Regions from separate parts of the Homo sapiens genome. Here region 1 is linked to region 2. The links are contacts of gene promoters, found by promoter capture Hi-C in blood cells and fetal thymus (Javierre and others, 2016). All regions are on one chromosome and are shown on one strand. The core of a region is centred on a gene start or on the middle of the fragment in contact, and the rest is flanking DNA. Distances in the headings are between cores, read along the strand shown. Region 1 has its middle 24 kb from the start of LNCSRLR. Region 2 holds the start of PLSCR5-AS1 (PLSCR5 antisense RNA 1).

Region 1 (5,180 bases), core at 1,284-3,783, 540 kb after region 2:
ACTTAACAATGGTGGCAGAAGAGTGCACAGTTACCCTAAGGTCACAGTAGCCCTTCAGTGTCAGCCAATTGGGGCCTTGCCTGAAGGCTGGTGCAGGGTTGCTTAATATTATATTTTTTAAATTATTTTTTAAAGAAGCAGAAATTCAAATACAAGTAAAATTATTTCGTTATTTGCTGACAGTTACTTTTCTTTCTTCAGGCCAACACAGAAGAAACTCAGATTTATATTATGAGGGCAATTTTCAAATTTCTGCTTAGACTATTGACTGAAGGCAATTGTCACTATTTCTTTATGGTTACAAAGAAGAAATGATTAGGCCATCATAAGGTGGACTCTAGAAACAAAGCCTATTAAGTATGTCTTGGATATAAGTTTATAGACACCCACATCTTAGCTGGACACAAAATTTGTTTAACTAAACAGTTATCCAAATGGTTTTCCCAGTGGAAAATAATTGTTTTTCGTTTGTTGTTGTTTTAGAGATAACTTGGCCAGAGTCAACATTTCCTCATATTCCCTATTCGCATTGATTTGTGTTTGAAAATTTAAATTATAGTCATTGGTGGTAATTCAGAAATCATCAGAAATACCCAAGGCCCTGTTCAAACCATGAAACTAGAAATTAATTTGTACATTCATTCACCAAATATCAATTATTGAATACCTTCTCTGTGTCAGGCACATGCTAGGCATAGACATTTAACAGTTAAGCAGAACCAAAACAAAAAACAGGATCTGTGATCACACAGATTGATTTTTAAGTTGTGATTAAGAGATGATATGGTTTGGCTCTATGTCCTCACCCAAATCTCATGTCAAATTGTAATTCCCATGTGTTGGAGGAGGGGTCTGATGAGAGGTGATTGAATCTTGGTGGTAGATTTCCCTCTTGCTGTTCTTGTGATAATGAGTGAGTTCTCATGAGATCTGCTTGTTTAAAAGTATGTTGCACGCCAGACGTGATGGTTCACGCCTGTAATCCCAGCACTTTGGGAGGCCGAGGCTGGTGGATCACCTGAGGTCGAGAGCTCGAGACCAGCCTGACCAACATGGAGAAACCCCGTCTCTACTAAAAATACAAAGTTAGCAGGGCGTGGTGGGGCATACCTGTAATCCCAGCTATTTGGGAGGCTGACGCAGGAGAATCACTTGAACCCGGGAGGCAGAGGTTGTGGTGAGCTGAGATCATGCCATTGCACTCCAGCCTGGGCAACAAGTGTGAAACTCCATCTCAAATAAATAAATAAATAAATAAATAAATAAATAAATAAATAGTGTGTTGCACTTTCCCCTTTGCTCTCTCTCCTGCCCTGCCATGAGAAGACATGCTTGCTTCCCCTTCTCTTTTCTTGTAAGTTTTCTGAGGCCTCCCAGCCATGCTTCTTGCATAGCCTGCAGAATTGTGAGTCAATTAAACCTCTTTTCTTTATAAACTACCCAGTCTCAGACAGTTCTTTTAGCAAGGTGAGTAAGAACTATTACAGAAAATTTGTACCGAGAGTGGAGTATAAAGACACCTGAAAATGTAGAAGTGACGTTGGAACTGGATAATGGGGAAGTGTTGGAACAGTTCAGAGAGATAAGAAAATGACAGGAAGATGAGGAAATGTTTGGAACTTCCTGGAGACTTGTTGAATGGCTGTGACCATAATGCTAATAGTGATATGGACAGTGAAGTCTAGGCTGAGGTGGTCTTAGGTGGAGATGGGGAACTTATTGGGAACTTGAGTAAAGGTCACTCTTGCTATGCTTTAGCAAAGAGACTGGCAGCATTGTACCCCTGCTTTAGGGATCTATGGAACTTTGAACTTAAAGAGAAGATTTAGGGTATCTGGTAGAAGACATTTCTAAGCAGCAAAGCATTCAAGAGTTGACCTGGTTGATGCTGAAAGCATTCAGTTATATGTGCTCACAAACAGAGCCTGACCATGTGGTAGAAAAGAAAATCCCATTTTCTGGGGCCAGGCCCAAGGCCCCGTTGCTCTGTACAGCCTTGGGACATGGCACCCTGTGTCCCAGCCACTCCAACTCCAGCTATGGCTAATAGGGACCAAGGTACAGCTTGGGTCATGACTTCAGAGGGGGCAAGTCCCAAGCCTTGGCAGCTTCCACATGGTGTTGGGCCTGTGGTGTGCAGAAGGCAAGAGTTGGAGTTTGGGAGCCTTTGCCTAGATTTCATAGGATGTACAGAAACACCTGCATATCCAGGTAGAAATCTGCTGCAAGGGTGGAGACCTCATGAAGAACCTCTACTAGGGCAGTGCAGAGGGGAAATGTGAGGTTGGAGCCTCCATGCAGACTCCCCACTGGGGCAGTGCCTAGTAGAGCTGTGAGAAGAGAGCCACTGTCCTTCAGATTCCTGAATGATGGTTCAACCAACAGCTTGCACTATGTGTCTGGAAAAGCCATACGCACCGAACACCATCCTGTGAAAGCAGCTGTGGTGGCTGTACCCTGAAGAGCCATAGGGGAAGAGCTGCCCAAGGCCGTAGGAGCCCACCCCTTACATAAGCATGCCCTGGATGTAAGACATGGACTGAAAGGAGATTATTTTGGAGCTTTAAGATTTAATGAGTTTCCTGCTTGGTTTTGGACTTGTATGGGGCCTGTAACCCCTTTGTTTTGGCCAATTTCTCCCTTTTGGAATGGGAGAAATTTACCCAATGCCTCTACCCCCCTTGTATCTTTGAAGTAACTAACTTGTTTTTTATTTTACAGGCTCATAGGCAGAAGAGACTTGCTTTGTCTCAGATGAGACTTTGGACTTGGATTTTGAGTTAATGCTGAAATGAGTTAAGACCTGGGGGACTATTGGGAAGGCATGATTCTGTTTTGAAATGTGAGAAGGACATGAGATTTGGGAGGAGCCATGGTGGAATGATATGGTTTGGTTCTGTGTCCCCACACAATTCTCATGTCAAATTGTCATTCCCATGTTTTAGAGGAGAGGGTCTCATGGGAGGTGATTGAATCATGGGGGCAGATTTTCCTCTTGTCGTTCTCAAGATACTGAGTGAGTTTTCACAAGATCTTGTGGTTTAAAAGTGTGTAGCCTTTCCCCCTTTGTTCTCTCTCCTGCTTTGCCATTGTAAGACATACTTGCCTCTCCTTCTCCTTCTGCTGTAACTGTTAAGTTTCCTGAGGTCTCCCAGCCATGTCTCCTTTACAATCTGCAGAACTGTAAGTCAATTAAACCTCTTTTCTTTATAAACTACCCAGTCTCAGGTATTTCTTTATAGCCATTTGAGAATGGAGTAATGCAAGAGATTACACCTAGCTCAAATTTCAGTTTATATACTCAACTGTTACTCCACATCTCCACTTAGATCTACAATGGACATCTCAAACCTATCATATCCCCAATTGAATTCTTGATATTCTGCTTCTAAATCTGGCCTTTTGATAATCATCCTTGTCTCATAATACAGTAGTATCCCTTATCCATAGCCTCACTTTCAGTGGTTTCAGATACCTTCAGCAAACTGTGGTCTGAAAATATTAAATGGAAAATGCTAATAATACCACTTCATAAGTTTTAAATTGCACACAGTTCTGAATTGTGTGATAAAATCTCACACCATCCCACTCTGTCCTAACTGGAATGTGAATCATTGCTTTGTTCAGCATATTCTTGCTGTGCACACCACCTGCCTATTAGTCACTTACTGCCCAGCTTGTTGAGTATCACTGTATCACTGTGTTCTGTTCAATTAGCCCTTATTTTAATTAATAATGGCCTCAAAGCACAAGAGTAATGATGCTGACAACTTGGATACACTAAAGAGAAACTGTATTGTGCTTCCTTTAAGTAAAAAGATGAAGTCTCTTGAATTAAGGAAAGCAAAAAAGAAAAAAAAAAAGAAAAAAGTTGTATGCTGAGGTTGGTAAGATCTAAGGTAATTAACATGGTTTGGCTGTGTCCCCACCCAAATCTCATCTTGAATTGTAACTCCCACAATTCTCACATGTTGTGGGAGGAACCTGGTGGGAGGTGATTGAATTATGGGAGTGGGTCTTTCCTGAGCTGTTCTCATGAAAGTGAATGAGTCTCATGAGATCTGATGGTTTTAAATACAGGAGTTTCCCTGCACAAGCTCTCTCTTTGTCTGCTACCAACCACGTAAGATATGACTTGCTCCTCCTTGCTTTCCCCCAAGATTGTGTGGCCTCCTCAGCCATGTGGAACTCTAAGTCCATTAAAACTCTTTTTCTTCCCAGTCTTGGGAATGTCTTTATCAGCAGCATGAGAACAGACTAATACAGTAAATTGGTACCAGTAGAGTGGGGCATTGCTGTAAAGATACCAGAAAATGTGGAAGTGACTTTGGAACTGGGTAACAGGCAGAGGTTGGAAGAGTTTGGAGGGCTCAGAAGAAGACAGAAAAATATGGGAAAGTTTGGAACTTCCTAGAGACTTCTTGAATGGCTTTGCCCAAAATGCTGATAGCGATATGGACAATAAAGTCCAGGCTAAGGTGGTCTCAGATAGAAATGAGGAACTTGTTGGAACTGGAACAATGGCGATTCTCATTATGTTTTAGCAAAGAGACTGGCAGCATTTTGCCCCTACCCTAGAGATTTGTGGAACTTTGAGCTTGAGAAAGATGATTTAGGGTGTCTGGTGGAAGAAGTTTCTAAGCAGCAATGTATTCAAAATATTACTTGGGTGCTGGTAAAGGCATTCAGTTTTAAAAGGGAAACAGAGCATAAAAATTTGGAAAATCTGTAGCCTCATAATGCAATAGAAAAGAAAATTCCATTTTCTGAGGAGAAATTCAAGCCAGTTGCAGAAATTTGCAGAAGTAACGAGGAGATGAATGATAATCCCAAAGACAAAGGAGGAAATGTCTCCAGGGTATGTCAGAGGTCTTCACAGCAGCCCCTCCCATCACAAGCCCAGAGGCCTAGGAAGAAAAAGTGGTTTTGTGGGCCAGGCCCAGAGTCCCCATGCTGTGTGCAGCCTAGGGACTTTGTGTCCTGCTTCCCAGTCGCTCCGGCCGTGGCTGAAAGGAGCTGATGTAGAGCTTTTGCCATGGCTTCAGAGGCTGCTAGTCTCAAGCCTTGGCAGCTTCCACATGGTTTTGAGCCTCTGGGTGGACAGAGGTCAAGAATTGAGGTTTGGGAACCTCTGTCTAGATTTCAGAGAATATATAGAAATGCCTGAATATAAAGACATT
Region 2 (4,994 bases), core at 657-3,156:
ATTACAAAATTTATCACCTTGGCCATCATATCTGTCATAGACCAGTGTAAGTATTATCCAAAGTAATATTAATAAATTTTACTATAATAAAAGCATGTTTAGCTAAATATAATTCTATGTGTTCTATGGACAAAGCTACTATATCTCTTTGATTAGAATAGTAAATGTGTTGCTATTTTAATGTGTGCAAGACTTTGAACATCAAAAATTTTTGGACACATAGCTTTGCCTTTTTAAGATAACCAATATTTCCTGATTTTGAAAATTAGCACTTCATTCTTGTTTCAGTATGTTTTATTTATGTAGAATCACAGGACACATGGCAATAAAGCCAATATATACAGTTTAGAATCACCTAAATTATGTATCTTCTTTCCTATGGGCCTTGAGATCACATATCCCAGTTTAGATCTCATTTCAGCAGCACGTTACATTAAAACAGCATTAACTCAAAAGCTGTGTTTCTAAGACTTGCTAAGTTAGTTTTGTAAAAAAAACAAAAAAAAAAAACAAAAAAAAACCTTATTCTCGTATTTGTATAAATTGAATATTTAAAAAATAGAAAGTTGTAAATTTGATCTGTAGCAATATAAACTATCTTAACAGGTTGTCCTGGACATACAACTTAGGTAGAGGAGACAGCCTAATTGAAAGTGTATATTTATTTTTCATCCATTCATACATAAATATCTCAGCAAGGGCATTTAGTTCTCAGGACTTCAGGAAACACTATGCACGTAGAATACAATGCAAATTTTGCAAACTGAGCTGTTCCAACTTCACCCTATCCCCAAAGGATTTGGCATGACTTTCCTACGAGTAATATGATTGAGGAGGACTTTAAACATAAGAGTTTTAGCATTCATGCTATAGAAATGTCCTAAGTAACCCTCTCTATTCTCTATCTTTTACTACCCTGAAAAAAGTGATAGTTTCTCTTGAATTACTTTCAGCATCAGGATGGGAAGCAGAATAAACAAACAAATAGCTGATAAAGTTGATTTGTGAACTCCTTCTAGCTGAGAAGGACTGATTGATGTCTAGTTGGTCTTAACTTCCTATATGGTACATTAACCAGGAGGATTTTTTTAATGTAAAAATAGGATTTAGGATTTGTTAGAAAGTATTGACCTAATAAATGTCTGAGTATAATATAAAAATGTGATTTAACAATGGCCAATAATATTTAAATGTTTTAATAATTATAAAATTTTAGCAACTGAAATTTGAAAGTTTACAAATTATGCCTAGAAATTAATTTAATTCCTTCTGAAATATTTTTTCAAACATATCTTCTTTTACATTTTTAAGATGGAGAATTCAGGTTTAAAATCTGGACCTCAAGTAAAGAAATCGCCTTCATGCTTAGATGATACAATTGAACTATGTACCTGCTGCCATCTTGTGGTGGCTGAGCCTTAATTATTTATCCTGATATTCTCCATCTGCATACAAAAAAGAAAAAGAATTATGATGGACTAGAAAACTGTCAAAAAAGCAAAGTTTCTAAAAAGTAAACTGAAAAGCTAAATTTACAAACCTATGCTTATATGATGGAATGAATAACATGGAATTGTCATTTTGAAGATGACAAATAAAATAATTCAAATCTCTCATGAAGTAAACACCCTCAGAAGTATAAAACCAACTTTTTTCACTGTCAAATTTAATACTCCTTATTTTCTTTCTAAAGGTGAAAACCATTAATGAAAAGCTTACAATTGGGAAGATTTCAAAGTACTGGTCAGGATTTGTAAATGATGTCTTCACAAATGCTGACAATTTCGGAATTCATGTTCCTGCAGATCTAGATGTAACAGTCAAAGCAGCAATGATCGGTGCCTGTTTTCTCTTTGTAAGTATGGGCTTTGAGAGCATGAGTGATTTGTTATTCTCCCTCTTGCTTGTTAATTACAATATAGCCTATCCCATTTACACAGTTTTTACCCCCAAAGAGTATATTTTATTCATAGAAGGATAGCTTAGGACCAATGTTCTTCAAAAATTAGAATTTAGAACCCTGCATTTCTGTTAGGCAGCCCCTCTTCAGTGATCTCATATCCCCTTTCTCAAAGATTGAAGTGTTATCACATCCTATTCATCATTTCTTTAAAACCTAGTTTCCCCTTGCTTTTACGTTCAATTTAGATTTTTGGCTTATTTTCACTTGAACTAAAAAATATGCAAACATAAATATCACATGATTTATCCTGGATAAAGTTCCAGACTGGTTCATTGCATAATAGTGAGCTAGATGATATTAAGAATGTTGCCTTCTCAGTGTGAACATAGACACATGAAATGATTTGATGAGTTAATAGGTACCAGTTGCCATTATTTCTAAGATACTATGTTCTTGTTATTACTTTCCAACTTACAATTATATTGAAAACCTTTTCTTCTTTGGTATATGGAGATTGGTGATAGAAGAACAGAAGTCAAATAATACCTGTATCAAAATGCTTGACCTATATCCTGTTCTTAGTTTTCCCTCTAATATTTACCTAATTTCCTACCATTTTCAATGCAGCCATAAAAACTTATGGAGTTTTTATTTGTTGATATATAAACACATGTATTTTCTATAAATACATGAAAAAGATGTGTATACACAGGCACACACATAAGTGATTAAAACAAACAGCATAAGAGTTGAGAGTAGGTTGCAGACATGATGCCTTTTCCCCTAATTATATTAGTGTGCATTTCCTAAAAACAAGGAATTTTTTTACACATCACAGTACTATTGTCAAAGTCAGGCACTAAACACTGATTCAATGCTATTATCTAATCTACAGACTTTATTCGGTTTGCACTGATTTGCATAATGATGTCCTTTCTGACAATAGAAAATCCAAGATCATGAAGTATGTCCATTTTGTCACATCTCATTTGTTTCTTTTCACCTGGAACTGTTCCTAAGGGGTGTGTGTGTGTGTATATGTGTGTGCATGAACATGTGCACATGCATGTGCATTTCCCTGAGTCTCATGACATTGGCATTTTTGTTTTTGTTTTATTTTTTGTTCTATTTTTTGAGATAGAGTCTCACTCTGTCACCCAGGCTGGAGTGCAGTGGCGCAATCTTGGCTCACCACAACCTCTGCCTCCCAGGTTCAAGCGATTCTCCTGCCTCAGCCTCCCGAGTAGCTGGGATTACAGGCATGTGCCACCATACCCGGCTAATTTTTTTGTATTTTTAGTAGAGATGGGGTTTCACTGTGTTAGCCAGGATGGTCTCGATCTTCTGACCTCGTGATCCACCCGCTTTGGCCTCCCAAAGTGCTGGGATTATAGGTGTGAGCCACCTTGCCCAGCCGACATTGGCATTTTTTAAGTGCATAAGCCAATTATTTTGTAAACTGTGGCCTAATTTCAGTTTGTGTCATGGTTAGATTCAGGTTATGCACTTTTGGTAATCATGAAATTTTTATAAAGCTTAAATTCCTTCTCATGTTTTATTGTTTTCTGGGGTTTCAGAATGCTAAATCTGATTGTTTACATTAATGCCCTATTTACTGAGTCTCTTCTAATGATATTTGGAAAATATATGAACTAAAAATTATTCCCTGATGACTTCACTGAAACTCAGAATTTAATACATAGATATATATGTATATATATATGCATATATACATATACATATACATATACAAGTATGTATATTAGGATTATTTCTCCAGGATTTCAGAGGAATTATTTTAACTTACCAGTCTCCTATTATTGGTAGAAGATGGAAGTAATATCTATAGAGTGCTAGGTTTTTAAACTTACTAAGTTGTCACTTACTCTCAACTCCCATTTTCATCTGCAAATCTAACCAGCTTAGTCCACCTTGCCTGTTGCCTAATGTCATCTCTTCCCTATTCTCCTCTATCCACTGGACAGTGCTTTTAACTTGTCACCCTTCCTTTGCTTACTGTTCCCATCTTTGATCATTCTGACTTCAACACCAACCCCTCCACACACACACCCTTTCCCCAAGATCTTCATTAGGCCTTTCTGATTAAGCCCCACACTTAACGTTAATATTTAGAAATAGATCCTTTTTAATCTGCCCTACTCACCTATTTTACATAACAAGCTGATAGTTAAAATGTACTGCCAAAATTGGAACTACAGTTCTCTGTATTTTAAACCTTATCAGTTTTTCTTATTGTTTCAGAAACCCTCTAAACATATGTTCTTCTTGAAAAAGCATGTATTTCTTAGTCCATATGCTTTGAGAGATTGATGAGATGTAGGTTCCGTAAAGGTTGATCTAGGTCATACTCAAAGTGTGGTGCAAAGTGCAAGCATCTGCACCACCTAGAAGCTCGCTCAAAGCAAAGAATCTCAGATCCCACCCCAGATGCATCAGGACCTGCACTTGAACAAGATGCCCAGGTGCTTCCTCTATGCACTATAAATTTAAGAAGCACTGATCTAGATAATACCCTAATCATCTAAAAGGATAACTTTTAAACTCCAGCATTTAAGGGAGAAATGTTCACTGAGAATAGTTAATGACTCCCATTCATTTCTCTTTTTTTCTTTTTACCATCATATTGTAAAACATTTGCCTTTTTTTGCCAGCCAATATAGCTTATAAAACTATTTCTTACATGTATTACCAAGATAAATTACTTTCCTTATACATAATTTTATAGAAAGAATTATGTTTTTAATTTTTAATTGCTGTTTCTATTTTATTCAGGCGAAAGCTTTAGAAAGCTGCTGGTATAAGGTTATTTCCTCATTTAAATACAAATCTAAATCACAAATGAAATCTAATTTTTGGTCTCTTCTGGTTCCAAGATACGGCTTCACAACCCACCACTCCTCCGACTCACCACTCACTCTTTGAGTTCTCTCTGGTGTAGTTTTCAGTACTCCCTCAAATAACCACCTATTGCTGACCACATTATCTCTGGTAATATATCTAATTTTTGTTCAAATATTCGTATCCATTATAACTTCCTACACTGACCCAGAATGCATACAGTCTAATTCTG

Evidence for each region. The method cuts DNA at HindIII sites, captures the fragments that hold promoters and counts their contacts. A CHiCAGO score of 5 or more calls a contact.
Region 1: a contact is called between a fragment that was not itself captured here and the fragment with the promoter of PLSCR5-AS1 in region 2, in 1 of 17 cell types (monocytes). The highest score is 5.2, in monocytes.

Annotation. Positions count from the first base shown.
Region 1 is chr3:146,042,691-146,047,870 of GRCh38, reverse strand. No RefSeq gene overlaps it. Among named protein-coding and RNA genes, the nearest start is that of LNCSRLR, 24 kb to the left of the region's middle. The HindIII fragment of the contact is 9,546 bases long and covers 1-5,180 here.
Region 2 is chr3:146,586,514-146,591,507 of GRCh38, reverse strand. PLSCR5-AS1 (PLSCR5 antisense RNA 1) reads right to left here and starts at 1,906. Exons shown (of 2, transcript NR_046698.1): 1 at 1,720-1,906; 2 at 1,183-1,445. It overlaps PLSCR5 (phospholipid scramblase family member 5), which reads left to right. Exons shown (of 8, transcript NM_001085420.2): 6 at 1,694-1,855. The HindIII fragment of the contact is 1,724 bases long and covers 1,717-3,440 here.